Linked DNA regions of Homo sapiens: regions 1, 2, 3, 4, 5 and 6 are each linked to region 7. The links are contacts of gene promoters, found by promoter capture Hi-C in blood cells and fetal thymus (Javierre and others, 2016). All regions are on one chromosome and are shown on one strand. The core of a region is centred on a gene start or on the middle of the fragment in contact, and the rest is flanking DNA. Distances in the headings are between cores, read along the strand shown.

The links. The method cuts DNA at HindIII sites, captures the fragments that hold promoters and counts their contacts. A CHiCAGO score of 5 or more calls a contact.
Region 1: a fragment that was not itself captured here is called in contact with the fragment with the promoter of IMMP1L in region 7 in 2 of 17 cell types (total B cells and activated CD4 T cells); the score reaches 6.6 in total B cells.
Region 2: a contact is called between a fragment that was not itself captured here and the fragment with the promoter of IMMP1L in region 7, in 3 of 17 cell types (naive B cells, total B cells and monocytes). The highest score is 8.0, in naive B cells.
Region 3: a contact is called between a fragment that was not itself captured here and the fragment with the promoter of IMMP1L in region 7, in 2 of 17 cell types (total B cells and naive B cells). The highest score is 5.4, in total B cells.
Region 4: a contact is called between a fragment that was not itself captured here and the fragment with the promoter of IMMP1L in region 7, in 1 of 17 cell types (fetal thymus). The highest score is 8.0, in fetal thymus.
Region 5: a contact is called between a fragment that was not itself captured here and the fragment with the promoter of IMMP1L in region 7, in 6 of 17 cell types (fetal thymus, activated CD4 T cells, total CD8 T cells and 3 more). The highest score is 12.2, in fetal thymus.
Region 6: a fragment that was not itself captured here is called in contact with the fragment with the promoter of IMMP1L in region 7 in 1 of 17 cell types (naive CD4 T cells); the score reaches 5.5 in naive CD4 T cells.

The regions. Positions count from the first base shown.
Region 1 is chr11:33,252,641-33,256,759 of GRCh38, reverse strand. It overlaps a transcript of HIPK3 not described here. Among named protein-coding and RNA genes, the nearest start is that of HIPK3, 2.7 kb to the left of the region's middle. The HindIII fragment of the contact is 3,038 bases long and covers 154-3,191 here.
Region 2 is chr11:30,311,955-30,315,833 of GRCh38, reverse strand. The region is part of intron 1 of ARL14EP-DT (ARL14EP divergent transcript); the gene reads left to right. Among named protein-coding and RNA genes, the nearest start is that of ARL14EP-DT, 9.1 kb to the left of the region's middle. The HindIII fragment of the contact is 1,519 bases long and covers 565-2,083 here.
Region 3 is chr11:30,331,740-30,336,063 of GRCh38, reverse strand. ARL14EP (ARF like GTPase 14 effector protein) reads right to left here. Exons shown (of 4, transcript NM_152316.3): 3 at 3,071-3,198. Among named protein-coding and RNA genes, the nearest start is that of ARL14EP, 11 kb to the right of the region's middle. The HindIII fragment of the contact is 886 bases long and covers 2,299-3,184 here.
Region 4 is chr11:32,895,798-32,899,755 of GRCh38, reverse strand. The region is part of intron 1 of QSER1 (glutamine and serine rich 1); the gene reads right to left. Among named protein-coding and RNA genes, the nearest start is that of QSER1, 5.0 kb to the right of the region's middle. RefSeq lists an enhancer at 1-162. The HindIII fragment of the contact is 4,008 bases long and covers 199-3,958 here.
Region 5 is chr11:33,159,583-33,163,640 of GRCh38, reverse strand. CSTF3 (cleavage stimulation factor subunit 3) reads left to right here and starts at 2,161. Exons shown (of 21, transcript NM_001326.3): 1 at 2,161-2,342. The coding sequence starts at 2,316. CSTF3-DT (CSTF3 divergent transcript) reads right to left here and starts at 1,984. Exons shown (of 4, transcript NR_034027.1): 1 at 1,860-1,984. RefSeq lists enhancers at 1,777-2,196, 2,932-3,799. The HindIII fragment of the contact is 203 bases long and covers 1,699-1,901 here.
Region 6 is chr11:32,598,402-32,602,690 of GRCh38, reverse strand. It overlaps EIF3M (eukaryotic translation initiation factor 3 subunit M), which reads right to left. Exons shown (of 11, transcript NM_006360.6): 9 at 1,859-2,002; 10 at 869-929; 11 at 1-412. The coding sequence ends at 292. Among named protein-coding and RNA genes, the nearest start is that of EIF3M, 17 kb to the right of the region's middle. The HindIII fragment of the contact is 227 bases long and covers 2,155-2,381 here.
Region 7 is chr11:31,507,268-31,511,248 of GRCh38, reverse strand. It overlaps IMMP1L (inner mitochondrial membrane peptidase subunit 1), which reads left to right and starts at 1,627. Exons shown (of 6, transcript NM_001304274.2): 1 at 1,627-1,730. ELP4 (elongator acetyltransferase complex subunit 4) reads right to left here and starts at 1,482. Exons shown (of 10, transcript NM_019040.5): 1 at 1,242-1,482. The coding sequence starts at 1,464. RefSeq lists enhancers at 1,178-1,467, 600-1,489. The HindIII fragment of the contact is 1,748 bases long and covers 394-2,141 here.

The DNA of each region.
Region 1 (4,119 bases), core at 423-2,922, 1.7 Mb before region 7:
CGCCCACCTCCACATTGGTAATTCTCCGTTAAATTAGTCGGTTTAACTCCCAAAGACTAGTTTCTTTCCTCCTGGAGATTAGGAAATCAACAGAATGGCCTGTTTCAGCTTACATAATCGTGGAACCATAGAATTTTAGGAATGAAAGAAGCTTTGCGATCCTTGGTCCCAACTCTTACACTCAGGAGTTCCAAGAAGTTTAGGTGACATGACCAAGGTTATACAGTAAAGCCCATGTCTCCCACCCCATCTTTCCTCCTTTTCCCTAGGAAACAAATGGCTTTCTAATACCTCACATTCAGAGTTGATTTTCTTTTATACCCGTTTCCTCAGGTTCCCTTTGTTCTGAATCAATGTCTAACCTTTTGGGAAACAAACACCTTTCTGGAATGGAAGTGTCCTTTCTTTGTTTCCTTCATAATCTTCACTAGCAAGATTGAATTTACCAGAGATGTATTTATTCCCAGAAATTTTCTATTGCAGTAACTGGGGCAGGGCAAAGGGAGTGGCAAATTGCTGCATACATAATACACATTTAATCCCTGCTGCTCTTCAAACCGGAAGATGAGTATTTTGGATAATGCCTTTAAGAGACAAAGGAGGCCGGGCGCGGTGGCTCGCACATGTAATCCCAGCACTTTGGGAGGCTGAGGCGGGTGGATCACCTGTGGTCAGGAGTTCAAGACCAGCCTGGCCAACATAGTGAAACCTGGTCTCTACTAAAAATGCAAAAATTAGCTGGGCGTGGTGGCGGGCGCCTGTAATCCCAGCTACTCGAGAGCTGAGGTAAGAGAATCGCTTGAATCGCTTGAGCCACTGCACTCCAACCTGGGCGACAGGGAGAGACTCTGTCTCAAAAAATAAAATAAAAGAGAAAGGATAGTATGCCCTGAGGCCACTGGAAATAACACTTTCGAATGACAGTTGTTTTCAGGTTAGAGAGGATAACCAGCTGAAAAGGCTTCCAATATAGAAGAACAAAACAATGGCTGCCTTTCAGAGAGATAGCCTATGAACCATTCCTTTTCACTTAGTATTTCGTTACTTTTTATTTTTCTTAAGAACAATAGTCAAAAGAATCAAAGAGGATAAAATCATTTACTCAACGGAGAAAGCTACAATAGTAGAAAAATCTGTCAGGAGGAACAGAGAAACTATTCCACTAGAACTTCAAATTTCAGAATTTTTGCAGACATTTAAGGAGGCCATCTCTAATGGAAGGCTTCCATTCCCTGTATTTGCTACATCCATGAAGAGATGGAAATGAGAGACAAGGATTTATTTTCCTTTCTATCTCCTGCATGTTGCTACTCACTACACTATATATTCCAGGAGGGGATTCATTCATCTTTTTTTTTTTTTAGATGAAGTCTCGCTCTATTGCCAGGGTTCAAGCAATTCTCCTGCTTCAGCCTCCCGAATAGCTGAGACTACAGGCATGCCCCACCATACCCAGCTAATTTTTGTACTTTTAGCAGAGACGGGGTTTTACCATGTTGGCCAGGATGGTCTCGATCCCTTGACCTCGTGCTCTGTCCACCTCAGCCTCCCAAAGTGTTGGGATTACAGGCATGAGCCACCACGCCCGGCCTCATCTTTTTTTTTAACCATTATATTGCAAGTGCCTAATACAGTGCCTGACTTGTGGTAAGACCTTAGTAAATGTTGCAAAATAAGTAAATGATATATTCCAGCCCCCCTTCACTTTATACCTATTGTCTCCTAACCTAATTTCTTTACCTCTAATCTCTTCCCCTTCAAATCTTTCTTTTTTTGAGGCACGATATCAGCTCCTCTGCCTCCCAGGTTCAGGCGATTCTCCTGCCTCAGCCTCCCAAGTAGCTGGGACTGCAACTTCCGCCTCCCAGGTTCAGGCGATTCTCCTGCCTCAGCCTCCCAAGTAGCTGGGACTACAGGCCCGTGCCACCACGCCCAGCTAATTTTTTGTATTTGTAGTAGAGATGGGGTTTCACCATGTTAGCCAGGATGGTCTTGATCTCCTGACCTGACAGAGTCTAATTTTGTCACCCAGGCTGGAGCACAGTGGTGTGATCTCCATTCACCACAGCCTCAACTCCCTGGGCTCAAGGGATCCATCCACCTCAGCCTCCCACCTAACTGGGATTACAGACACGCACCACCACAGCCAGCTATTTTTTTTTTATTTTTAGTATGGAGATGCGGTTTCATTATGTTGGCCAGACTGGTCTGGAACTCCTGGCCTCAAGTGATCCGCCCACCTCAGCCTCCCAAAAGTGCTGGGATTTCAGGTGTGAGCCACTGCGCCTGGCTTTCAAATCTATTCTGAACACAAACATCTAGATAATCTCCCAAAGCCCCTAATGTAGCTATTTTACAAAGTTTGAGGGTTGTTTTTTTTTTTTAAGGAAAATTTCTCATAGTGCTAAGATCTCTCAAAAATGCAGGCTGGGGGAGGGCATGGTAGCTCACATCTGTAATCCCAGCACTTTGGGAAGCTGAGGTTGGGGGATTGCTTGAGCCCATGAGTTCCAGGCTGCAGTGAGCTGTGATTTCGCCACTGCACTCCAGGCTAAGTGACAGAGCAAGATCTTGCCTCTAAAAAATAAAACAGGAAGATACTAAAGAAAACCTTAATGTTTTCATTCAAAAAAATTACTTAAGGGCCAGACTTGGTGGCTCACACCTGTAATTCTATCACTGAGCAAGACCTAGCCTCTTCAAAAACCCCTCTCTCTCTACAAAAAATACAAAAACTAGCCTGGCCTGGTGGTGCACGCCTGTAGTCCCAGCTACTCGGGAGGCTGAGATGGGCCCTGAGGCTGCAGTGAGTTGTGATCACACCACTGCACTCCAGCCTGGGCGACAGAGTAAGACCCTGTCTCTGAGTAAGTAAGTAAGTAAATAAACAAATAAAATCCTTCACAGAACTAGCCCACAAGGAACTCAATCAACTTTTTGTCTCCTTACTCCAGCCACTCTCTGGAGCTCCGTAGGTGCCTGGATCACCTTCTGCCTGAAACATTCCTCAAGTATAGCCATCCACCTTTCTTTCCTGTCCTTACTCAAATATTGCCTTCATGGTGAAGCCTCCTCTTCAGCGATGACCACCTATATTTACATTCCCTGTCTTTATCTTTCTCTTTAGGGCTTGCCATCATCTTAGATACTATGATATATATTTTCTGTTCCCTTGTCCCTCAAGGTAAGCTTTCACAGGGCAAGAATTTTTGTCTGTTTTCTTGATGCTTTGATCCCCAGAGCCTAGAACAGGGCCTTGCATGTAAAGGGAACTCAAATATTTGTAAAGTGAAAAAATAAATTTTCTATGGAATCAGTAAGAAACCCTCCATAAACTCAGACTGCGAGCAGTCACAATTGTTTGAGATCACCTAGCCATGAAATCCAAGCCCTCTCTCTCAGCTATTCCTCCCACCTCTACCTCCAAAAATTACTCTGCCCAGGCCAGGCGTGGTGGCTCATGCCTGTAATCGCAGCACTTTGTAAGGCCAAAGCGAGTGGACCACCTGAGGTCAGGAGTTCGAGATCAACCTAGCCAACATGGTGAAACCCCGTCTCTACTAAAAATACAAAAATTAGCTGGATGTGGTGGCACACACCTGTAATCCCAGCTACTCGGGAGGCCGAGGCATGAGAATAGCTTGAATCTGGGAGGCAGAGGTTGCAGTGAGCCGAGATCACACCACTGCACTCCAGCCTGGGTGACAGAATGAGACTCTGCCTAAAAAAATAAATAAATAAAAATAACATTACTCTTCCCAAAGGAGGCCAGTCCTCCTCGCACTCACCTTGTGTTCTTCGCTGCCATTGCTCCTCGTTAAACCACATATAGGTGTTCCTGTGAAGAGATGGCCCTCCGCAGTCTCCACAAATGATGCCGACGCTTCTGTCCAAAGCCATGCAGTTTCAAGAAAAAGCTGGGAACTTTTTCAGAGCCTGAGTCACCAATCCACACTCCCCTTCCTCAGGGAAGTTGGTTGTTGTTTTGTTTTTGTTTTTTTCTCTAGTCCTTGGGTATCCTTTCTTACCATTACACCTTGGGAGAATAGGAGGTACCCTGTCAACCAAAAATAGCCCCCTAGTTACTAATATCAAGGAGGAGAGGTTCACCAAGGGGAC
Region 2 (3,879 bases), core at 75-2,574, 1.2 Mb after region 7:
TTTAAGAGTCAGTTGATTTAAAGAAATGTGATATAGGGGATTTAACTAATGACTGGGCAGAAGGACAGATTGAAACTGTGTTTTTCAGCAGTTCTTCTGATTTGTCTCATTTAAAGTAAAGATTTCAGACTGTTGTGGGGGTGGCGTAGGGGAAGGAAATACAGATTTGTTCACAGCTGCTATTCAAAATACTAGCCATATAACTAGGAAAGAATTTGGCTCAAATAAAAACCCCAGGGCTCTTTATTGCCATCACAATCATTATTGTGTCAATTAGGATTCATCTGGGTGTCCACAGTGTGTTTGGCACAACGTCAAGGAAGGAAGCTGATGGTTACAGGAACCATTTTGGTTACATCTTCGAATGACCAAAATGGTGTGAATTAAATGCAGAAATTAATTATTAAAAATTAATAATTCAACAGCACTGGGAACAAAAAAACTAGAACTGGAAAAGGATTTAACAATTCTGTTGCATAGCTTCCTCATTTAGAGGTTGATGAGACTTAGTTCCGTAAATGGTAATGTTATACAACTAACATATAAATGACAATCTGTAAAGCTTGTACAACCAGTAAGTAATAGGGATAGTCAAGACTCACACCCAGGTTGTCTTTCTAAAAATGCAGTGTTTTTCCTACTCAATCAGGCTGCATCTCAATCTGTAAGAATCATATTCTTAGAAAACTAGAAAACATAATATCTATTTATAATATTAATATCAATTACTTCTTTTGAATTGCTCTTTTGGAAAATTGGTCAAGCCACTAGATTCTACTTGTTCTATCTATTTTGTATTAGTCATTATCTGTGATAAGAAGAGAAGGTAATGATGGCTTTGGTGGGGATGCTCTAGCTTTGGTGGAGCTTATTTAGATGAACATTATGAGCATTCTAAATATTTTTGGAAAAAATTACAAAACATTATAGATATTTTTGAGATTCCTTGAAAAAATTTCATATGGGCCTTTGGACAGATCTTTGAAGAGCAATACTGCCTAAAAGCCAGCAGAGGGAGAACAGAACATTGTTTTGCTAATTTTCACTAAGTTTCTCCTCATGCTCTTTTACATTTTATTTTTCCACATATTTAATACATTTCTTGACCATGAGATAATATTATCCTGTCCTGCACTTTTGGAAAGGGCAGAGGATGCTGCTATCATTGAATTAGAGTTTTGTTTAACTCACTGGTCAATAGGCTATCAAATGAGCTGGGTTAGACAGTTCTTAAGCATAGTCGGAGTTTATTTATGTGGCTTTCACATGTTTTTCTCTATAATAATTGTGTCAATTAGGTGATTTTAAATATTATATATAATCAAGTCAATTAATATAGATTCTCTCACCTCCAATAATTACTGCTAAGAGAAAGTTACGATGTAATAACAAGGTTTGGGATTATCTCATTAATGACTTGATGTTGCTATGTAAGAGGGCAAATGTACATTGACTCAAAAGAAAGTTGAAAATGATGACTTTTTATAATGAGAGTTTTAGAAATAAAATTCAAGTGCCAGTTAGTTGAAGTAATCACCTACTCATTCTTCCAAAAATCTTCAATACATTTCCACATTCACTATTGCTTTGTTTTCTGTATCTTCAAATTTTGAGGTACAAAACTGAATATACTACATACTTGTCCTCTAAGAATTCGTAAGAGACAGACACAGAAACAGATGATCAAAAATGTTAACAGTAGTGTTAGACATATTCATGAGGCAGTAAGTGGGCATAGAACACAGGCACCCAAACCAATAAAGGGAATCTGGAGTGGTTCCTGGAGGAGGGTCATCTGAGCTGAGATTCCTTATTTATGCTTAATTTATATTAATTCATTTATGCAAATGACATTTTTTCAAGGAATCTCAAAAATATCTATAATGTTTTTGTAATTTTTTCCAAAAATTTTCTGGGTTATTCCCTCCCCCATCCACATGGTTATGGTGAGAGCAGCTATTCTGTACATCATCACACTGCATCCCTGGGCCCCAAATGTTTGGGCCATGAGTGAGTACATGAAACATGCTGAGGCAATCAATGTCCCTCCCTAGGATTTTTCCACATGGGACTCACTGAAGCTTGAGAACTGTCAATTGCTATGTTTTCTGCCATTTGATAGAGGAAAACCAATAATAACCACAATGTGAGTCACATTGACATGCACAGGGAGAAGCAGAGACAAACTGAAGAGAATGCGTCTTCCAGAGAATGCATTCTGTTGTTACCTACAATAGATATACAATCACGTCCTTGCTCTCTGTTTCAGGAAGCATCCCAGTATCCTTACAGTAAATTTCTCTTTTTGCCTCCAGTTGGTTTGAACTGGCTTGCTTTCTTCTGCAGCCATGAGAATCCCAGCTGGTATGAAGAGTTACCAAGGCAGAGGAAGGGTGAAGGACATTTCATGGACTGCATGAGCAAAGCCACAGAGACATAAAAAAGCATGGCATGTATAGAGAAATATAAATAGTTTAGTTTTTTTGAAACAAAATGAGAGAGAAAGAGTGCTAAGAGCTTTGGTGAGAGATATGTCATTTTAAAGAGTTTAACTCTACCCTGAAGGCAGTGAAGAGCCTTACACTGGTTTAGACAGTGAGTGACTTGGTCAGATATGTGGTTTAGATAGATCACACTGGCAGGAGTTTCTTCAATAGTTCTCTCTTATCTCTGGGCTTATCCTATGTTCCCTTACCCAGGAACCTGGGGGAAGAAGATGGGACATAGAAAATGTATTATTTCACTAGCCAGAGCAAAGCCCAGAGTTATGACTTTTTATTATTTGCATTTTAATTGCTATTTAACAGTCTGTCTTCTCTTGCATTCTGAAAGTCCCACTGGAGCACAGGCCATGTCTAGTTTGTTTACCATTGAATTCCCAATGCCTATCTTAGTACCCAGAACACATGGTGATTCAATAAAAAGTTGTTAAGTGAATAAATGAGTGAATGAGTAAATAGTGATAAGGTGGAGGAGATAAATTCAAGATATATTTTGCAATAGTCAGGACTTGATGAGTTTTATAACATATCCTCCTTTACTGAGCACTTATGTGCTCTGCAGGGGACGGAGTGCTTTGCATGCATTATCTTATTTAAATTTCACAACAATCACCTGTGTAATATGTACCACAGCTCTTCCTGTTTTTCATATGGGGGAAAAAGAAGATTAAAGAGACCAAATGCTAGTTTGAACCATATGAAATTGCCACCTAATAACTTGCCCAATATAGTTAATGAGTCAGTAAGTACTCTACAAACTGAATGTGTGTTTCCTCACCAAATTTATATGTTGAAACCTAATCCCCAATGTGATGGTATTAGGAAATGGTACCTTTGGGAGGTAATTAGGTCACAGATATAGAGTCCTGATGAACGGAACTAATGCCCTTATAAGGGGCTGAAGAGGTCAGAGTTCTTCCTTCCACCATGTGAGAATACACACCAAATCTGCCAGCTCCTTGATCTTAAACTTTATAGTCTCAAGAACTGTGAGATATAAATATCTTTTGTTTATAAGCCACCAGTTTATGGTACTTTATTATAGCAGCCTAAATGGACTAAGACAAAGTGGTACTGAAACAGTTGAATATCCAGATGCAAAAAAGTAAACAATGATTTTTATGTCATACCACATACAAAAATTAATACAAAATAGATCACATATCCAAATATATCTAAACTATAAAAAAAGGTCTAGAAGCAAGTATGTGAGATATTCATTGTAGTTTTGGGTTAGACAAAATTTTTCTTAGATACAACCAAAAAAACAGGAACCATAAAATAAAAAAATGATAAATTGGATTTCATGAAAATGAAAAACTCTCACTCTTCAAAAGACACCAATGGAAATGAAAAGAAAAGCAACACAGTCTGATAA
Region 3 (4,324 bases), core at 1,492-3,991, 1.2 Mb after region 7:
GACTGAACTTAGAAAAAAAATTCTGAATGATTATATTAACATTTGTTTTAGAGTCATATTCTAAACAATTTAGTTCTCCCATTCATTATGTTGACTATACAGAACTGCATTTCTATTTCAGACATGTAAAAAATAAAAACCTTGCATTCTCATAAAATGTAATTACCTTTTAGCTGCTACCCATAGAACGGAGATATATGAATTACAGGCACATTTCGGAGGTATTGTGGGTTTGGTTCCAGACCACCCCCAATAAAGTGAGTCACACACACACACACACACACACATATATATATATATATTTTTTTGCTTTTCCAGTGCATATAAAAGTTAAGCTTACACTATAGCCTATTAAGTGTGCAACAGCCTTATGTCTAAGAAAAAAATGTATGTACCTTAATTTAAAAATGCTCTATTGCTAAAAAATGCTAACAATGATCTGAAACTTCAATGAGTTGTAGTTTTTTTGCTGGTGGAGGATCTTGCCCCAGTGAGGACAGCTGACTGATCAGGGAGGTCGTTGCTGAAGGCTAGGGTAGCTGTGGCAATTTCTTAAAGACTACAGTGAAGTTTGCTGCATCAGTGGACTCTTCTTACAAAAGATTTCTCTGTAGCATGTGATGGTGTTTGATAGCATTTTACCTACAGTAGAATGTTCAAAATTGGAGTCATCCTCTCAAATTCTGCCTCTGCTTTATCTACTAAGTTTATATAATCTAAGTCCTTTGTCATTTCAGTAATGTTAACAGCATCCTCACCAGTAGATTCCACCTTAATAAATCACATTCTTTGCTCATCTCTAAGAAGAAACTCCTTATCCATTCAAGTTTTATCACAAGATTGCAATAACTCAGTCACATCTCCAGGCTCTGCTTCTAATTCTAGTTCTCTTGCTATTTCCACCACGTCTGCAACTACTTCCTCCACTGAAGTCCTGAACCCCTCAAAGTCATCCATGAGGACTCGAATCTTCTTCCAAACTCTTGGAATGGTGAATCCTTTCCAGAAGGTGTTCAATTTACTTTGCCCAAATCCATCAGAGGAATCACTCACTGTCTATGGCAGCTCTGGCCTCACAAAACGTATTTCTTAAATAACAGACTTGAAAGTCAAAGTACTCCTTGATCCGTGGGCTACAGAATGAATGTTGTGTTAGGAGGCATGAAACATTTATCTCCTGGGACATCTCTATCAGAGCTCCTGAGTGATCAGGTACATTGTCAATGAGTAGCAATATTTTGAAAGGAATCCTTTTATCTAGGCAGGAGGTCTCTCAAGTGGGCTTAAAATATTCAATGAACAATGCTGTAAACAGATATGCTGCCATTCAGGCTTTGTCCCATTTATACAGGACAGGTAGAGTACATTTAGCATCATTAGGACCCTAGGATTTCGAAGAGGTAAATAATTGGCTTCAACTTAAAAGTCACCAGCTGCATTCGTCCCTACCAAGAGAAACGGCCTGTCCTTTGAAGATTTGAAGCCAGGTATAGACTTCCCCTCTCTAGCTATGAAAGACGGCATCTTCTTCCATTAGAAGGCTGTTTGTTGGCTGGGCGTGGTGGCTCACACCTGTAATCCCAGCACTTTGGGAGGCCAAGGTGGGCAGATCACGAGGGCAGGAGATCGAGACCATCCTGGCTAACATGGTGAAACCCGTCTCTACTAAAAATACAAAAAATTAGCTGGCTGTGGTGGCACGTGCCTGTAGTCCCAGCTACCCAAGAGGTTGAGGCAGAAGAATCGCTTGAACGCAGCAGGTGGCGGGTGTAGTGAGCTGAGTTTGCGCCACTGCACCTCAGGCTGGGTGACAGAGCAAGACTCCATCTCAAAAAAAAAAAAAAAAAAAAAAAAAGAAGGCTGGTCTACATTGAAAATCTGTTGGGTAGTGTAGCTACCTTCATTAATAACTTGCTGCTTCACCTTGCACTTTTATGTTATGGAGATGGCTTCTTTCCTTACCCTCATAAACCAACCTCTGCTAGCTTCAAACTTTTCTTCTGAAGCTTCCTCACTTCTCTCATCCTTCAGAGAATTGAAGAGGGTTAGAACCTTGCTTTGGATTAGGCTTTTGCTTAAGGGAATGTGTTGTAGCTGGTTTGATCTTCTATCCAGACCATTTAAAGTTTCTCCATATTAGCAATAAGGCTGTTTTGCTTTCTTATCATTTGTGTTCAATGGAATGGTACTTTTAATGTCCTTCCTGAACTTTTTCTTTGCATTCACAACTTGGCTGTTTAGCACAAGAGGCCCAGCTTTTGGCCTGTCTCAGCTTTTGACGTGCCTTACTCCCAAGCTTAATCATTTCTAGCTTTTTTTGTAAAATGAGAAACTTGACTCTTCCTTTCACTTGAACACTTAGAGACCATTGCAGGGTTATTAGTTGGACCAATTTCAATATATTTGTTTCTCAGGGAATAGGGACACCTGAGGAGAGGGAGAGAGTCTAGAGAACAGCCAGTAGGTGGAGCAGTAAGAACACCCACAGCATTTATCGACTAAGTTCACCACCTTGCATTAGTGTGGTTCCTAGTGACTCAAAATAATTATAATAGTAACATCAAAGATCATCATAACAGATACAGTAATGAAAAAGCTGGAAATATTGCAATAATTACCAAAATGCGACAGAGATAGGGAGTACATGCTGTTAGAAAAATGACACCAATAGACTTGCTTACCACCGAGTTGCCACAAATTTTCAATTTGTAAAAATAAATAGCACCTTGTAAAGAATAAAGTGAAGCACCAATAAAATGAGGTATGTCCGTATATATATAATAACAATGCTTTTCAAATAAGTGAATTACTTTAATTGTAATTATTTTAACTCTCATGCCAAAATTATTTCTTCAGTTCACTGCTACCTTCTTAGAAACAAATTTTTGTAGTTGAAAGGGATACCTTAATTTTATATGAATAAAAACAAAGGCCTTCATAGGTTTTTACTAATTCTACATTATCCAATTTAAAATATGAACCCAGAAAATTCAAAATTTAAGAGAAAAATAGGGGAACAATGCAGATGTGAAGCAGCAAGTTAACATGTCTTCAGTAACACTTAGCCTACCTGTCTGAACCAGCGGTTGCATTTTTTGTAAGCCTTCTTTTTTCTCTTTTACCAGTTTCTGGAGCAAATTCAGTTTGCCTTCCTGGATTCGTAAATTGTAATGACCTCAAAGCTTTAGCAGTTCTTCCCTGAAGAAAGGTAAACAAATTATCAACTCAAATCTTGACAACAGACAACAGATTAACATTTTATTTAATGTTAAACCAGACGATTCCCTAACATGGAAGACAGTCTGGAACACACAAAAAAGAAAACAAGGTTTTAGAGCCTAAGTGCAAGAAAATTTACATGGCCCTAGACCATATTCAAAGCATATTGGTTAATGTATTAGTAACATTTCCATTATTTTATTTTAGTCTCTGGTATATTAGGAGCAGAGGAGGAAGGCATTGTGAAAACTGCAATGGCTGCTGCCAACACAGGAGAGAAGGCACAAAAACTGCTATATAATCCAGTGGCACATAACTGATTTCCTAACAATCCTGGGTCCTTATTATTGTATTTTATATATTTTTAAGAGCAGAGAATATGATTTCAAGTTCTAGAATAGTATTATAATCTTTTTGAAAAGTTTTGGTGAAACAAAATTTCGGTGTTTAAGGGTTTATGTTTGTTATTTGGGGAGGAAAGAGCTGCAGCTGATATATTCTACAAGAACATTGGATAGATAAGGTGAAGACATCTACAATGACACTATCAGCAAGTATCTAGTATGAACTACAGATAAACTGGGCCCTCAAGATGTTCCTCTGAGAAGACAACAACAGGAAAATAGTATAATTTCAAATTTCAACTATCTTTTAACTTGGTTTAATAAAAAGGAGAAAACTGAGAAAAATATTCCAGCAGTAAGAATTATGAAATAATTACAAGTAAAAATTCTGAGATGTGCTTCTTTGATATACTTGTCCTACACAAAAGATAGCTTTATGAAAACTTAAGTTGTTCTGATATGGTTAAATATGCATGTAGGCATGTCAATAGGAATAGAGGTAAAATATTTAATACTTTACAATGTAAAAATGTATTATTTTTTTTTTACCTCAAGGAGTCCTAAAATTAGCCTTGACCATATCAAGTAGGAATTCAGAACTAGAAGCAAAGAAAATTCACAAGCATTTAAAAAACTCAAGAACGAGACAGTGTCAAAGGAGAAAAAAAGAGTGAAATAAAAAACAATTACTGTAAGTCACCTCTCTAATGTTCCTTTTAAAGCAGTGATTTCCAAGTCCTTCATATAAAGGCGAAGTCATC
Region 4 (3,958 bases), core at 953-3,452, 1.4 Mb before region 7:
ACATTTAGAAGCCAAGCAGAGAGGAAGCAAGTGCATTACCCTCTCACCCTCCAGATCACAAGTTCTTTCAGAGGCAAGACAGTGTTTTTTTTTTCATTTTTGTGGCACCCTGCAGAACTCAGCTGAGAAACAGAAACTGAGAGATGGCCACTACATTTTAATGAGTGATTGCATGCTTGTCACTTGATTTCTCAAGCTTTCACTGCAGAAATATAACTCAAGGAGATACAGGTAACACTGCCTTAACAATTGCAGGTACTCAAATATTTGTTTAATGAATAAAAGAAAACTGTGTTTTGGTAGACATACTTTAGTACTCATTGTTCCAGAGAACATACCAAGGAAAGGAAGAAACAAGTAGTAGCCCATATCCCCACCCTGCTAACCAAAGATAATCACAAACTTACCCTTCATCTTGGTCCCAACTACAGGGTAGAGGGGGAATGGCATTAGAGGCTGCAACAGGAAGAAAGGGGCTTCCAATTCCCACACTGAAGCAGAGTTCTGGCTTTCATGATATAAGTATGTATTAAGCACCAACTATATGCCATGGATTAAAGTAAATACTAAGTACTACAAATATAACAGCAAAACACATAGGGGTTCTTCAAATAACCTCCATTCTGAAGAAGATACGTATTACATAAACAATACATAGGTATATATTTCTAAGAATATGAAAGTAAAATAAAATATTCTGTGAAAACATATACCATTGCACAAAGCAACAAGGAGTGAGGGTTGAAAATACTGCAGGTTTCTCACATGAGATACCTTAACAAGTCAGTCTGGGAGGTGGGGATAGGGTGAGAGTTATCTAAGTGAAGGTAAGACGATGTATGAAAACCTTAAGGTAAGAAGGAATTTAGGATGATTCAAAGAATTTAATACAGGCCAGTGCGAGGCATGGTGGCTCACGCCTGAGAGGCCAAGGCAGGAAGACTGCTTGAGGCCAAGAGTTCCCGACCAGCCTGGTCAACATAGCAAGACCTCATCTCTACAAAAAATTTAAAAATTAGCCAGGTGTGGTGGCACATGCCTGTAGTCCCAGCTACTTGGGAGGATCACCTGAGCCCAGGAGGTCGAGGCTGCAGTAAGCTGTGTTCATACCACTGTACTCCACCCTAGGCAGCAGAGTTAGACCCTGTCTCAAGAAAAAATAAAAAAGAAAATAAATTAAAAAAAATTGGTCAGTAAACGCAGAGCCATACAGAGCACATTACAATGTGTGTGTGTGTGTGTGTGTGTGTGTGTGTGTGTGTGTGTGTGTGTGACAGGTTCTCACTCTGTCGCTCACACTGAAGTGCAGTGGCACCATCACAGCTCACGGCAACCTCCACCTCCCAGGCTCAAGCCATCCTCCCACCCCAGCCTCCAGAGTAGCTGGGACCACAGGCGCACGCCACCATGCACGGCTAATTTTTTCTATTTATTTTTTGTAGAGATAGGGTTTCACCACGTTGCGTAGGCTGGTCTCAAACTCTTGGGCTCAAGCAATACTCCCACCTCAGCCTCCCAAAGTGCTGGGATTACAGGCGTGAGATATCACGCCTGACCATATTACAGATGTTTAAAAATGTGACCCTAATATGTAGGAGTAGCCATGGAAAGGCTTTAAGCAAAGGACCAAGAGCAAACTTGTAGATCTGTGTTTTTAAAAATCACTCTGGATGGTATAAGAAGAATGAATTGAAGAGAGGAAAGAAAAGGTCCAAGATGACTAAGTTAGGAAGCTACCACAGTTGTCCAAGTGAAAAATAATGGTGGCTTGGACCAGCTGGAGCAGTGGATACAAAAGAAGCAGACAGTTTCAAGACATTAGATTCAAAACAGTAGGTCTTAGTGACTGAGCACACACAACTCCCACCATCTGGCCTGGGCAACTAAGTGGACAGAGGTATGACTACTGAGATGGGCCTCACTAGAGAAGCAGAGGTGTGATGGGTGGGGAAAGCATATCATTAAGCTCAAGTAAAAGGTCAAAGAGGTAGTTGGTTATGTGATCAGGTTTTCAGAAGAGTCTGAGGTCCTGAGAAGAGTCTGCTCAAATATGGGCATCTCCACTGAGATAGTATTTAAAAGCATGGACGTGGATGTGAGTCCGCAGGAGAAAGCAAGGAATGAACAAGAAATTTATCAATCCCAAGCCCTGAGGAAACAGTAACATGCAGAGATTAGACAGAAGAGGAGTAAACACCAGTGAAGAACAGGAAAAAGCGTTGGGCCAGAAAAGTAGGAGGAAAACCAGGCAAGTACAGTGCTATGGAAGTGAAAAGGAATGTATTTCAACTAGGTAATGGTCAACGGTGACAAAGAACACTTAAATAAGGATATTAATGATGCTTAGGTTTCCAGGCCAACTCACAGAAACTCATTTCACATATAGGTGGATTACAGCATTCCACTATCTTACAATAAAGCAGTGCAGTACACTGGTTATCACATAGGCTCCAGATCTGCAATGCCCAGGTTTCAATCACAGCACCACTATTTACTAGCTATGTAGCTGTAGGTATAAATTACTTCATGTCTCTATCCCTCAGTTTCCTCATCCATAAAAGGATGGTAAAAAGAATGCCTACCTCAAAGGATTTTTATAATGAATTTTGATAAATGAATGTATGTATTCATTTATTCATGATAAATGAATTTTGATAAATGAATGTACGTGTGACTTAAAACAGCTAGCACAAATTAGTTGCTAGTGATGTAAATGACAGCTACTATTACTTACAACACGGTTTCCATGGGAAAAAACTTTCTGAACTCTAACAGTGGAAGTTTGTCTGAAATAACCTTTCATTAACTTGAGATTGTTCTTACGCCTTACAAATTATGATCTATAAGGCCTTTTCCCAAAAACCTTGAGGAAAACTCTAGATTTGAAATGTATCAAACAAATGTCCATCATATAGAAACTGACAGGTTTTAGAAGAGCTAATCATTACTTTGGTTTTTCAGAGGAGTATTTATCATACTCATTATACCTCATACTAAAAAAAAGTATGCATTAGGAATTCTAAAAACTGGTGCCAAAAGTTATTTCAAGTTAGAAAGGCAAAAAACAGGCCAGGCACGGTGGCTCACACCTGTAATCCCAGCACTTTGGGAGGCCAAAATGGGCGGATCACCTGAGGTCAGGAGTTCAAGACCAGCCTGGCCAATGTAGTGAAACCCCATCTCTACTAAAAATACAAAAATTACCAGCCTGGCCAATGCGGTGAAGCCCCATCTCTACTAAAAATACAAAAATTAGCCAGGTGTGGTTAGCTACTCAGGAGGCTGAGGCAGGAGAACTGCTTGAACCCGTGAGGCAGAGGGTGCAGAGAGCTGAGATCACGCCGTTGCACTCCAGCCTGGGCAACAAGAGCGAAACTCCATCGCAAAAAATAAAATAAAATAAAATAAATAAACCTATTTAAATACAAAATATTTCCATTCCCTTACTTTCTGGTGCATATTCAAATACGAACACATCGATTATCACCATAAAACAGCCTGCCTCTTCCTGTTGTGACCAAGATATAAGTATCAAGTACAGAATGCGGCAATGGATCTGCAGACTCTTGATGACCTTCTTATTTCCCAAGCTATGCAAAGGTATTTACAACATCCAAAACTGCACCCCAAAAGGTATTTCCAACTGCGTGGTGTTCAGCAAAGGACATGTTCATTCATTTAGTTCCTAAAACGAACTGAAATTAGCATAAATAAATGAAGATTTATATGGCCAGTCCTTATCCCTGTACTTTCCAAGTACCTAGCAAGTACTCTGAGAAATATTCAAAAATCTTTCTATAAGCCCCATTTAAGGTATAATGCTGGAGTTTCCCACTCTATTTTTCCACTGTTAGTACAATAAAACTACCTAATAACTAACAGAGCTGTTGTATTCAAAAAAGTATTGTTTCAAACTCATGAAAAGCTGTTTATCATGTACCTTCCCATCAACTGATGA
Region 5 (4,058 bases), core at 551-3,050, 1.7 Mb before region 7:
TGAACCCAGGAGGCGGAGCTTGGGAGCTTGCAGTGAGCCGAGATTGTGCCACTGCACTCCAGCCTGGGCGACAGAGCGAGACTCCGTCTCAAAAAAAAAAAAAGAAAAAGAAAAAATACAAAAATTAGCCGGGCGTGGTGGCGCACGCCTGTAATCCCAGCTACTCAGGAGGCTGAGGCAGGAGAATCGCTTGAACCTGGGAGGTGTAGGGTGCAGTGAGCCGAGATCGCACCACTGCACTCCGGCCTGGGCGACAGAGCAAGACTCTGCCTCAAGAGAAAAAAAAAAAAAAACCTAAATGTTCCAAAACTCAAAACGCTCCAAAATCTAACTTTTTAAGCACTGACATGACTCTCAAAGGAAATGCTCATTGGAGTATTTCAGATTTTGGATTTTCAGATTAGGATGCTAAAGTGGTAAGTATATATACGTAAAACACTTTCATATTCTGCTTTTCTTCATTTAATACGGTGGTTGCCTTTCTGTCAGTCATCGTACATTAGCATCAGTTTGCTGTGTGATATTCCATTGCAGAGATAAATCTTGTGATATTTTTAACCAGTCCTCCATTGCTGGATGGTGCAATGAACATCTGTTAATACATATCTTTTGCTCATGTGTCTGATTATTTTAAGGGTAAGATTTCAGCCTGTGGAAAGGGAGTAAGTGTAAGTTTGAGCAGAGGAAAGGAGACCTAAAAGAATAAGGCGAGTCTGGGAACAGTTCACTAGGTTATTTTAGGGCATTGGACCCCCGTAGGCGAGAAATGCTTGCAGACATCTAACGATGACGCTTAAATGGAAGAGCAGTTTGAGAAGATTTAGTATCATTTAATTTTTTATTTTTTATTTTTTTTGAGACGGAGTCTCGCTCTGTAGTCCAGGCTGGAATCTCGGCTCACTGCAACCTCCGCCTCGCGGGTTCAAGCGATTCTCCTGCTTAAGCTTCCCGAGTAACTGGGACTACAGGCGCAAACCACCACGCCCGGCTACTTTTTTTGTATTTTTGGTAGAGACGAGATTTCACCAAGTTGGCCAGGTTGGTCCTGAATTCCTGACTTTATTTATTTATTTTCTGAGACGGAGTCTCGCTCTGCCGCCCAGGCTGGAGTGCAGTGGCGCGATCTCGGCTCACTGCAAGCTCCGCCTCCCAGGTTCACGCCAGTCTCCTGCCTCAGCATCCGGAGTAGCTGGGACTACAGGCGCCCGCCACCACGCCCGGCTAATTTTTTTTTGTGTGTGTGTGTATTTTTAGTAGAGACGGGGTTTTACCGTATTAGCCAGGATGGTCTCATCTCCTGACCTTGTGATCCGCCCGCCTCAGCCTCCCAAAGTGCTGCGATTACAGGCGTGAGCCACCGCACCTGGCCTAGAACTCCTGACTTTAAATGATCCATCCGTTTTGGCCTCCCAAACTGCTGGGATTACAGGCGTGGGCCACCGCGCCCAGTCAATCTCATTTAATCTTAATGCCAGGTACTGTTCTAACACTTTTCTATGTATAATTTATTTCACTTGCAGGTACTATTATTATTCCCATCTATAGGCCAGAAAGCTGAGGTACGAAGTTTAATTACCAGAGTTACTTATCTTCGTTAAAATCCAAGCAGTCTGGGCTACAAACAATTATACCTACTTTGCAGTCAAGGAACCAAGCTGAGATGTTGAGCTGAAAACCCAGGTCTCAGACTTCAAAGCTTTCTACACAAGAGTCGACGGTGGCAGTAAAAATTAATGGGGGCTTGATCTATCCCTCCCACCCCCAAGAAAAGTAAAAAGCAGGAGCTGGGACCAGAGAAAACCTCCACGGAGTCCTTATCCCCTAAATATAAGAGGCATTTAACGTTTAGCATTGCTGACCTGCAATCAGGCTTCAACTGTGAGTAGCCAGGCTCTAAAGCTTGATAACTGAATTCCAAAAAGCGCGCGAGCCTCCAGGCGAAACAGCTTCCCGCCTTCCAGCCGGTTGGAGCCGGCTCAGCAACAGCCTCTCCAAGCCAGGGTAGTGACGTCAGCCCAGGAATTGGGCCCGCCCCGGGATCTCGCTGCTTTCTGCACGCTCGGAATAACCAGAGTCGCGAAATTAGCCCCGCCCACTGCCCCGGAAGTTAATGCGGAAGCCACACACCTCCTCCTCGGCCGGCAGGGGCGCAGCCATTTTAATTCATATTTGAGTGGGCGGTGGCGATTGGTGTTGGCGGTCTGGCTCAGCTGGGCAGGGGGTAACTTTACTGATTTGGGGGTGGTTTTTAGTTTAATTTTTCTTTTCTAGCTTCCCATCGACGGTCAGTGCGCACGTTGTAATCAGCTGAGGCCATGTCAGGAGACGGAGCCACGGAGCAGGTGAGGAAGGAGAGTGGTGGGGCCTCGTGGCGACCTCTTCTCCACGTCTGTTCCTCCGACTGCTCCAGACATGTTCGGCTGAGGAAGGAATTGGGTCTAGTGAACCCGGGGGACAGGGTATATAGAAGAGTGGTGGGAATGGGGAGCAAGATCTAAGATTTAATTTTTTTTTTTTTACTTCTCTCTCTTAGGCATGAATACGAGTAAATACTTGATTTAGACAATAGCGGTAGGCTGCTTCGTCCTATTTAGATTCATGGGACTACTCCAGATGGGATGCTTTCCTTTGATATCGTTTTGGTATTAGAGTGGATAGGAATTATTTTAACGTGCACCCGACGTTTTAGAAAAACTTGACAGTGTTTCTTTTACCCCGCCAAATATACTGTACCCAGAAATAGGTTACTAGTTTGAGAAATATTTGAGACAAAGCTAATCTGGAGAATTAAGACTTAATGAGAGCGAGTGAAGAAAGAAGCAAGTTATGCTGAGGTTTTGGGAATTTTGTGGCTTTCTTTCGTTTTCTTTTCTTTTAGCCACATTTCGTTTTCATTTTTCCAGCTACATAAACATTGCAGGTATAAGTTGAAAATGAGAAGTCTGTTTTGGCCACTGTAAATAAAAGCATCTGTTTTAATAGTAAATATGAGTGACAACTAAATATTTTAAAATTCACACTTTTAGGTTAGATCAGTGTGATTTGTTTCTTTTGCTCTTTGTATTCAGAATTTTGTAGGATAGTATTTACCTTTTAGTGTGAAAGAGGAAGCTAAATAGTTATGAAAAATGCCATTAAATGTGTTTTTCGATCTAAGTCCTGGTGTGTTTAGATAAATACAGTTTCTAAAATGGAGGCTAGGTAGCCTGCAGTCTCAATTTCCTGAAATTTCCCATTGCCATAGCAACGACATGCACTTAGGTTTTCGTTTTTCAGGTTCCCTAGCTTATAACGTGGAAGATGTTATTGGAGGTTGGCAGAGATGAGGCAAAATAGGAGCGTTCTATTGCATAGTCTGTAAGACTGTAGATTTCATTATGTCGGCAGTTTGATTAAATTGTTTTGTGTTTGCCCGAGGACTGGTTTCAGTCCAGAAATCTTCGCACTATTTACATTTTACATAGTGTTAGCATGCCCAAGCATGCAAAGTCTTAAAATTACTGTATCAAAACTGTTTACCCCTTTTCTGATCTAGTATTTGTTATCTGAAAGTGAAGGACTAATGAACTGAGGTTTCATTGAAAGTTTTCGAAATTCATTGTTAATTCTTAGAATTTATCTAAAATTACAAAGACACGGAAATGTTACCATGACCTCTTGAATGTTTTAGAACTGTGGTGTTTCAGTGGGACAGATGGTGGTGAAAATTTATAGAAAAATAATTTCTCCCAAAGGTTTTATTGTGCAAAGTTTAGAACATAGAGAAAAGTTGAAAGAAAAGTGCAGTGAACACCTGTAGGACAACTCTTCGCCTGGAATCAACAGCTGAAAGCCTTGCCATATTTGCTTTATCTCCCCATGCTGATAGATTGAGAACAGAGTCTTTGTCACTCACACTAGAGTGCTGTGACGCCATCACAGCTCACCATAGCTTCGACCTCCCTGCGCTCTGTGATCCTGCCACCTCAGCCTCCTCCGTAGCTGGGAGTACAGGCGCGCGCCACCATGCCCAGCTAATTTTTTTTTTTTTTTTTTTTTTTTTTTTGAGATGGAGCCTT
Region 6 (4,289 bases), core at 1,019-3,518, 1.1 Mb before region 7:
CTAATGTGAAGAAATTGTATTACTCTACTTCTGTCTTCTCTCTGTATATTATCCTTTCTTTAAAGTGCTCATTGCTTCTTCAATATCCTTTTTTAAAGAACAGAATTTATGTATTGTATGACAGACATTGTGACCCCTTGTAATTTATTACTTCATATCCTCTGGAGTTTGTGATTTTAGTATAAATTTGAGACAATAACTGTCCAGACTAGGCAAATTTTTTTAGTTTATAATGTTTTACTATGATTTAGGGCTTTTTTTTCAAAGAACAAAAATTATAAGCATAAAAACTCAGGTATCAGAAAGACTCAAAAGGCTGTTTTTCACTTTGTTCAGATTTTGTTTCCAGGCATTAAGTGTGTCATACAGTTGTTGCCACTGCTGTTTTCCAAATGTCCGATGTGTGCTATGACTAAAAATTGAAAAATTAAACACAGTGTTAGTCAACCTTTTAGCCTCTGGTATTCTTTTATAATACTACAGATTTGAATCCAGTTAAAAGCAAGATTAAATATACCTAATTTAGAATAGTAAGAGAATTTAAGAATTACATAATTATTTAAAAAAAATCTTTACCATATTGATCCTAAGCCTTCTAATTCTCCTGAGCAACTATATAAAGCAGACATAAAAGTCATTAGTATTCTAGCCAATGCTCAGCCATTAAATGAAATGTGCTGGAAAATAGGACTCTTTCATTAAATAAGCTAATCACATTCAGTCTGAACTTTAATAAAATTATGATAAATAGCAACTATTTAACTACAGTCAAGTGATAACACCACCTTGGTTCTCTAAACATTTAAGTGAAATAATCGGAACAAACTAAATCGTTCTATAAAATGCTGCAAAGCATTAAATATCTTACCTGACAACTACTTTTCTCTGGGTCTGATCAATTTTGCAGTAGACCATTTTAGTTCTTACGGCTGAAAAAAGATGTTTTATATCGTATGTTATATGGAAAATTTCCAAGAAAAATAGCTAAGGTATGAAAACTGTGACCAAGTAAGCCATAATAAAACTTTATACTGTTTTCCAACATTATACACTGTTTAAATCTAATAAGCAAAACAGTATGGGGCAACCAAAAGAAAGGTCATGCATTTGTCCTATGGCTGCTGGGACAATCTATATTAAATAAATACTGCATACAGTTTTTTGCTGTTTTTTTTTTTTTTTTTTTTTTAAAGAATGCTAGGTGTTCTTCCCCTACCATCTCATATAGGGGAATAAACTAATTTCCTACTAAGTTATTACTTCTTCATAGAAAACTTAGAGCATTAGGGGAAAAAAGGTCAATAGTTCTGTACCTTTTATTAATCTTAATTGCATAATCCCAACTTTCAAATTTAAAAAGCTCAGAAAAAATTCCTGAGCAGTTAAGTTGCTTTATAATCTAATTGTTGGGGAAGAAGTTCTTGTTTCTAGGCTAATCATAAAAAAACTGGTAATGGTTAACACTTGAAAGATCACTTACTATGTGCCAGGCACTGTGCTTTACCTGTATTAATTCATTTAATTCTTACAACCACAAATGAACCCCTACATTCCTGTTTCACAAAGGAAGGGCCTGGTCTTAAATCCACATCTAATACTAAAATCTGTGCTCTTAACCACAGTGGTGTATTGCCTAAACGTCTTTGTTCTACGTGATTTCAAGGGATAGAATATAGCAGTTTATATTTCTACTAAATTTTCACCCTACAACAAATATATCCACTAATCTACTAAATACACATCTGCTATAAACAAATCTTTGTTGTGTAAGGCTCAGTTTCCAGATAAAAATCTTACTATGATCCATGTAGTAGATGAGAAATTCTAGAAATAAATGAAAATGTTCTGTCTGCCTTACCGTCAATAACAAATGCTTCAACATCATCAGCTCCAATCTGAAGTTCTTGCTGCATTGTGTCAAAAGAAATTTCCTTATTTTCTACTGCCATTCCCATAAAAGTAAGTAGTCTCATTTTTGCCATATTCTGTTCATGTAACAGGCCTAGAAAACAGAATAGTGAAGCCTGATGAGTGTTCATACTAATTAAAGACCTGCACAATTACATCTCATGTTAAGCTGTGGAAATTATTTTTACTTTTGTAATTGTGGAAATTATTGTTTGAGCACTTATATAGAACAATTTTGACAAAGCTTCTTATATTTGCAAACTATAAACTGACTCCACAGAGTATTAAAAACAATTTTTCTATAGTACCATAGGTGATAGATTCAAAGTTAAGAATCGGCCATAAAATGATTATTTTTAGACCCTAAAAGTTTTGCACATTTTACATTTTTAAATAGTTATACATTTTAGGAGATAAAATCTACAAAGTACATTTCATAAGAACAATTTCTATTTAGTTAAATTACCTAAGCTTATTTTTCACACTAATAGCTCTTCATTTAAACACAGAGGATTTCTTATCTACTTATTAGTTTTTTCTGTGTTACTATTACTGGTAAACCTGAAGTTTTAAAATACTTTCACAAACATTTTCAGTTATGAAAACATTCCATTTTGCTTCAGGTCACTATTTAAAAATCAAAACTACTTACAAACCAAAACTGTCAAAGTGTGTGTGTCATTTAACATTTATAGGCCAATACAGTTAGTACTAGATATAATTAAAGAATACCATTAAAAGTGATACTTGTTCTTTATAAGACAAAAGTAGAAAATTGCACAAATAATTCAAATTTTGCATTATAATTTCTAATGAAACATGCTGTTGTAATTATTCAAATAACAACAATGTGTTAGGCCTAGAAGAAAACTTAAGGAATTACCCAGTCCTGATCCTTTCACTTTAAAAACAAAACTGAGGAGCAAAGAGATTAAATGGGGACTTATAGTCAAAAAATAGCAGTGCTAGGCCTAGAATAGGTTCATTTCTAAAATAAAGGGCTAGAAATTTTAAAAATTAGGAATCCTAAATATATAACCTAGTCCTAAGTAGGAGCAGAATTCTAACATAATATCATATATACTTGTTTTGATGCTAACTTATTAATTATAAAACTAAGTTTCTAAAACTAATCTAGATTTACATGTTCCTTTTCTCTGAACTTTTGAACTATGTAAAATCAGCAAATGATCAATCAAGTGCCCTGTAATAAATTCAGAGCTTCAAGTCTGTATTGTTTAAAAAGTTCACTCTCTAAACACTCCATAAATAAATTTTAAATTTATAACATTCATATATTAGTGGAAGATTAGGGAAGCCCATTAACATAGGACATGATCATCTGTTAATTAGCTGTAATTATGATACAGGCTTCCTATTTGGCACAGATTCAACAAAAACATGATCACCATAACTCAAATGAATGAGGTATACAAGGAAGTATTGCTAACTGGGTTTAATGGAAATCTACAGGCGCCAAGAAATCAATTAGTGCACATTAACCCTAATTAACAATGCAAATTAGATGCCGATTAACTTTCTGAAGCAAAAGGTAGCAACTGGATAACACCAGATTACATGTGGACATGTTAGGGCAATTCAGTTGACACAAGATAATGCTACTGTTGGCCTAAGTTGTCAGTGTTAATAAAGGAAAATGTTCTGACAAACTGATTGCAACTTGTGGAATCTAGATAGTTGTCACTAGGCTTTCAGCTGTAATAAATGTTTAATTATAGAATTAAAATAAAAAATATACACATTAATATAAAGATGTTTTCTGAAAAGCATATAAACAAATTTCTAATAGAATACTGATTTGCATAGATGTTCAAGAAACGTAAGGCAAATGAAGGAATTTGAATTCTAGCTGGCACAATAAATTAGCAATGTTAACGAATTTTTTCTTATCAATGAATAAGTATTAAAGATTTTTTTCAAAAATTCCTTAACATTCTCAGTTCTATTGGCATGGACAGACAACTCTCTTTCAATATAAAGTGATAGAAACTTCTGAAATTTCTATTATTTTAAATACTCCTGAAATTAAATCTATTTTACTGCTTATCTTTTCTGCAGTTACAATCTTACCATAAATGAAAAAACTTATCAGAGGAATGAAGATTATTTCTAGGCTGAATTCCATAAAACCGTTATCTATTTTACATGTGAAAACTTGCATCTAAAAACACTTTAAATTGATGTTTAAAGTAACAAAGAACCAAACTTAAAACCCTTAGGACTCTTGTTCTGAAAAATCAAACTACTAAGGCAGTGAAGTATGAGTTAAAGACTTTGTAGGAAGCTGTGCTTTGTTTCATAAAACTAAAATACTACCATCAAAGAGGAAGTCACAGTGTACTGTGTCATATTTCAATTTT
Region 7 (3,981 bases), core at 378-2,877:
CGGTGGACTATATATTTGCTAACTAGATATTTTGAATCACTTCTATTTACAGTACCATGCAACTCAGGAGGAAAATATATTTGAAACAATTAAGTGAAAAATACTTAAACTTATCTAGAAATAACCGGAAAATGAAATGAGAGAATCAAGAAGCCATACTCTTTCTCATAGGTTGCTGGTCTTCTTACTTTCTCTGCACTAAACCTATGAAAAGCCTACTTTGAGGGGAAAATAACCGAAAGAAATGTCAAACGAAGTACAAGAACAAGCAATGAGTTATATTTTATGAAAGTGTACAAGATTTAACAGACACATATCACACACTATGAAAAAAGTTATGTAAACACAGACGGGGTTTTAATGAAACAGCATTCAGAAATTAATCTAGAAGCTTTATTAACACAGCAAATCTGTCCTACCAACTTAATCTGGTCATTCCTTTGAATATAACAGTTATGAAACAAGCATATTCTTCAGCAGGCTTCTCATAAAAAATTCCAGAGATTTTAAAGGAAAGCCTAAGAACTAGACTTTTCTCGTTAAAATGTGAGTTAAATTTAAAGATGTCGTATGGAATGTAGCAGCAATCAATACTGGGAAGCAAAATGTATATAGAAAAAATAAAAAATATATACACAGATTTAACGCAGACACTATCTAAATATCAACGACAGGCTCAAAATACTTTATAAGGATTATGTGTCAACATAAGCCTTTAACATTCGCTCTCTTAAAGCCAAAATGTTTTAAGATTTAGAACCAGAGAACAGGCAGTCTGACGGTCAAAGAGGGGAAATCATTTTTTTCCAGCATCTTCTAATGAAGTCTGTCTCTCACAATTATAAAAACTTTTGCAGGCTGGTCTAAACCGTGAGCTGCCTGGAGAAAGCAGAAGGGAGGTATCCTGAATGAAAGCCAAACCATCTCCATAAATTAATGTCTTCCCTTGACTAGAAAGCATTTCAGGGTAAAAAGCATGTACGAATTCCTCCGTAATATGAAAAGGGGTTGGAGGGCAGGGAATGAAATAGAGAGCGAGGGCACTAAAACATGTTTAGTTAACAGCGCTCAGAAGTCTCCACACAACCCGTATTCCCCTCCATCTCAATCAGACCAGGCTATTCTCTCCTCCTCCGAAGGTTTAGGGGTCAGAAAGAGATGTGGGGTCAAAGTGGCTTCCCCGACAGGTCCCCTCCCTAAGTTTCCCCTCGGCTGAGCCCAGATCTCCGCTCTGAACCGACCTAAGAGCTGGTCTAGGGCTGGGAGCCCGGTTGATACCAGCAGCTGTCCATTCCGCACCGACGGTCGCGTGCCCGCAATGGACACCAGTCGAGGGCCGCTGTCGTTGGTCACGCTGGCTCTAGGACCCCTCCTCTGGAAACTGGTGACGTTGCTCTTGCTGGCTGTCGCCACTGCAGACCCAGTACTCGCGGCAACACTACCGCAGGTTGCCACTGCCGCCATCTTAGAGCCTCCAGTGTTAACCCAATAGGAACTCTGGGAACGCAAACACCCGTCCTATCAGAACCAGTGCCAAACTCCCGCCTCCTCGCCCCAACCGCGGCTCTCGTAACCAATAGGACTGAGACGTCAGTCCCGAGCCAACCAATCGGAAGGCGTATTGCTGAAAAGTGCGCCCTACGAAAGGACGGTCGACTTCGGCGGGGCCCAGGTGAGAAAGGCCCACCTGTGTCCTGGTTGAGGGTCTCCAGGGTTCTTTGGGGCCCGAGGTAGGTAATATCACGTAACGTTCTTCTCCTTTTGAGTGCCTTCATTCACATTGAGTTAAAGAAAAGGTTGGTGAAACAATAAACCCTTAGGGCTTATCAAGCAATTGCTAGCACCTTTCTCCGCTGTGTGTGAGGATAGACTTTTTTCCTGCTCATTTATCTTCTGATTTCTGATAGAAAATTCACTCCGCCTTCCCCACGATGTCTTTTTCTTAATTTTGTGTTATATGGAAAGGATGGGATCTCTTACCTTAATGAGTTGGTTGCTGAGCGTCTGGGCTTAGTTCGTTAGTGCCTAGTGGTAGGTGGTTTGGAATTAAACCTTAGAGCGAAAACTCTTGAACTTTGAGGCTATCTGGTTTTCCTGTGTCTGACAAACTATAGCTCTCTGACAAGTTCCGATAAGAAGCTTTTGTTAATTTTAATTAGTGTTTCTGGAAGTCTTGGATGTCTTTCCTAAGCGGTGTAAATGACAAGTGTTACTCTGACAACCTTGTTCACACATTTAATTGTCGTTTGCTGTTAAAGCAGCTGCAAATAACAGAAAATACTTAGGGTTTCTTTCCCCCAAAAAACTGCTAGGAAGAATTAGAAGTATACCTACTTTATTTTATGAACCCTGAATCGAGAGTTTATTACTAAAATACCAATTTTATGTGTGGAAAAAACATGTATTTTGAGTTGTATTTTTGTATTTAATTTTTTTTTCAAAACTGAGCAGGGACAGTGGGTAACTGATGTTTAAAGGCAATCATGATTGACAAATGTCTAAATTGAAAAGGACTCCCAAATCATTACCGCACTACTGAGTTATTGACTTTGACAGTGATCTGTGATACCTTTTAATTAGAGCCAAACCTCATTGAAATTCTTGCCATCGAATTGTTTTAAATCTCACTGACCTGTTGAAATTTTTGGGCTGATTCTGTTTGATAAATTGAAATTAGTATTGCTAAATAGTGACTGGAGTTTTTCATTTGGGGAGGATTTTTGTTTGTTTGCTTGTTTTTTAGAATCATGTTTAGGAAAAAACCCTGTTTCACAATATATCAACTGGAAAGCTTTGATCAAGGTTGCTTTCATATTGAATCTTTAAGTTACTCAATAAATAGCTGTTGAGTGATTACTGTCTGTTTGGACTTAATCTTGTCATTTTAGACCTATGGTAATAAAAATGGTCTCACCTGGAGGAGATAAAATTAACACATAGAAAACAACATAGTACTTAAAATGAACACATTAAATAGCATGTGCTAATTTTATCCTGTAGTAAATAAGCACTAGGAAGACCAAAAGAAAAAGTGACAAAGCAGTCCAATATCAGATAGAAACGTCTTGAATTTTTTTTTTCTTCAACTTTTGTTTTAGGTTCTGGGCTTCATGTGCAGGTTTGTTACATAGGTAAACGTGTGCTGTGGTGGTTTGCTGCACAGATCAACCCACCACCTCGGTATTAAGCCCAGCATCCATTAGCTATTCTTCCTGATGCTCTCTGTCCCCCCACCCCTACAAATATTTTTGATGCTGTGAACTTTTTGAAATGCTACATATAATTATTATTTTTTGACAGATGGCATTGTTTTGTGTACCTCATGATGCTATGAAGTGTATGTACATTCCGGAATCGTTAAATCTAGCTAATTAGCAATGCATTACCTCACATAGTTATCATTTTTGTGGTAAGAGTACATAACATCTACACTGTTTACATTTTTTTAAAGAATACAATATATGATTATTAACTATAGTCAGCTTGCTATAAATTCATGTTATATAATAGATTTCTTGAAATTTATTCCTCCTATCTAACTGATATTATGTATCTTTGACCAAATTCTCCCCATCCCCCCTGCCAACCATCCTGGCCTCTGGTAAACACCATTGTACTCTCTGTGCGATGAACTATTAGATTCCACCTATGAGTAAGATCATGTGATATTTGTCTTTCTGTGTCTGACTTATTTCACTTAACATAATGGTATAATTCGTTTTTATAGGCTTCTGTATTACATATTCCCTTGTTTCCTACTGTATTTACTTAACCCTTTAGATTTCCCAAGATGATGATAGTGGTGCTTTGTTTGCCTCATTACTAGAACTGAAGAATTATTTTCCAACTTTGACTTGGACTATAATTCTGGAAAGATGATCTATATACACACCAGAGTATTCATGAAATTAGGATATATATCTGGTATAACACTATCGTAGGATAAATATGCTTTTGTTTTTTTTTTCTGAGACGGAGTCT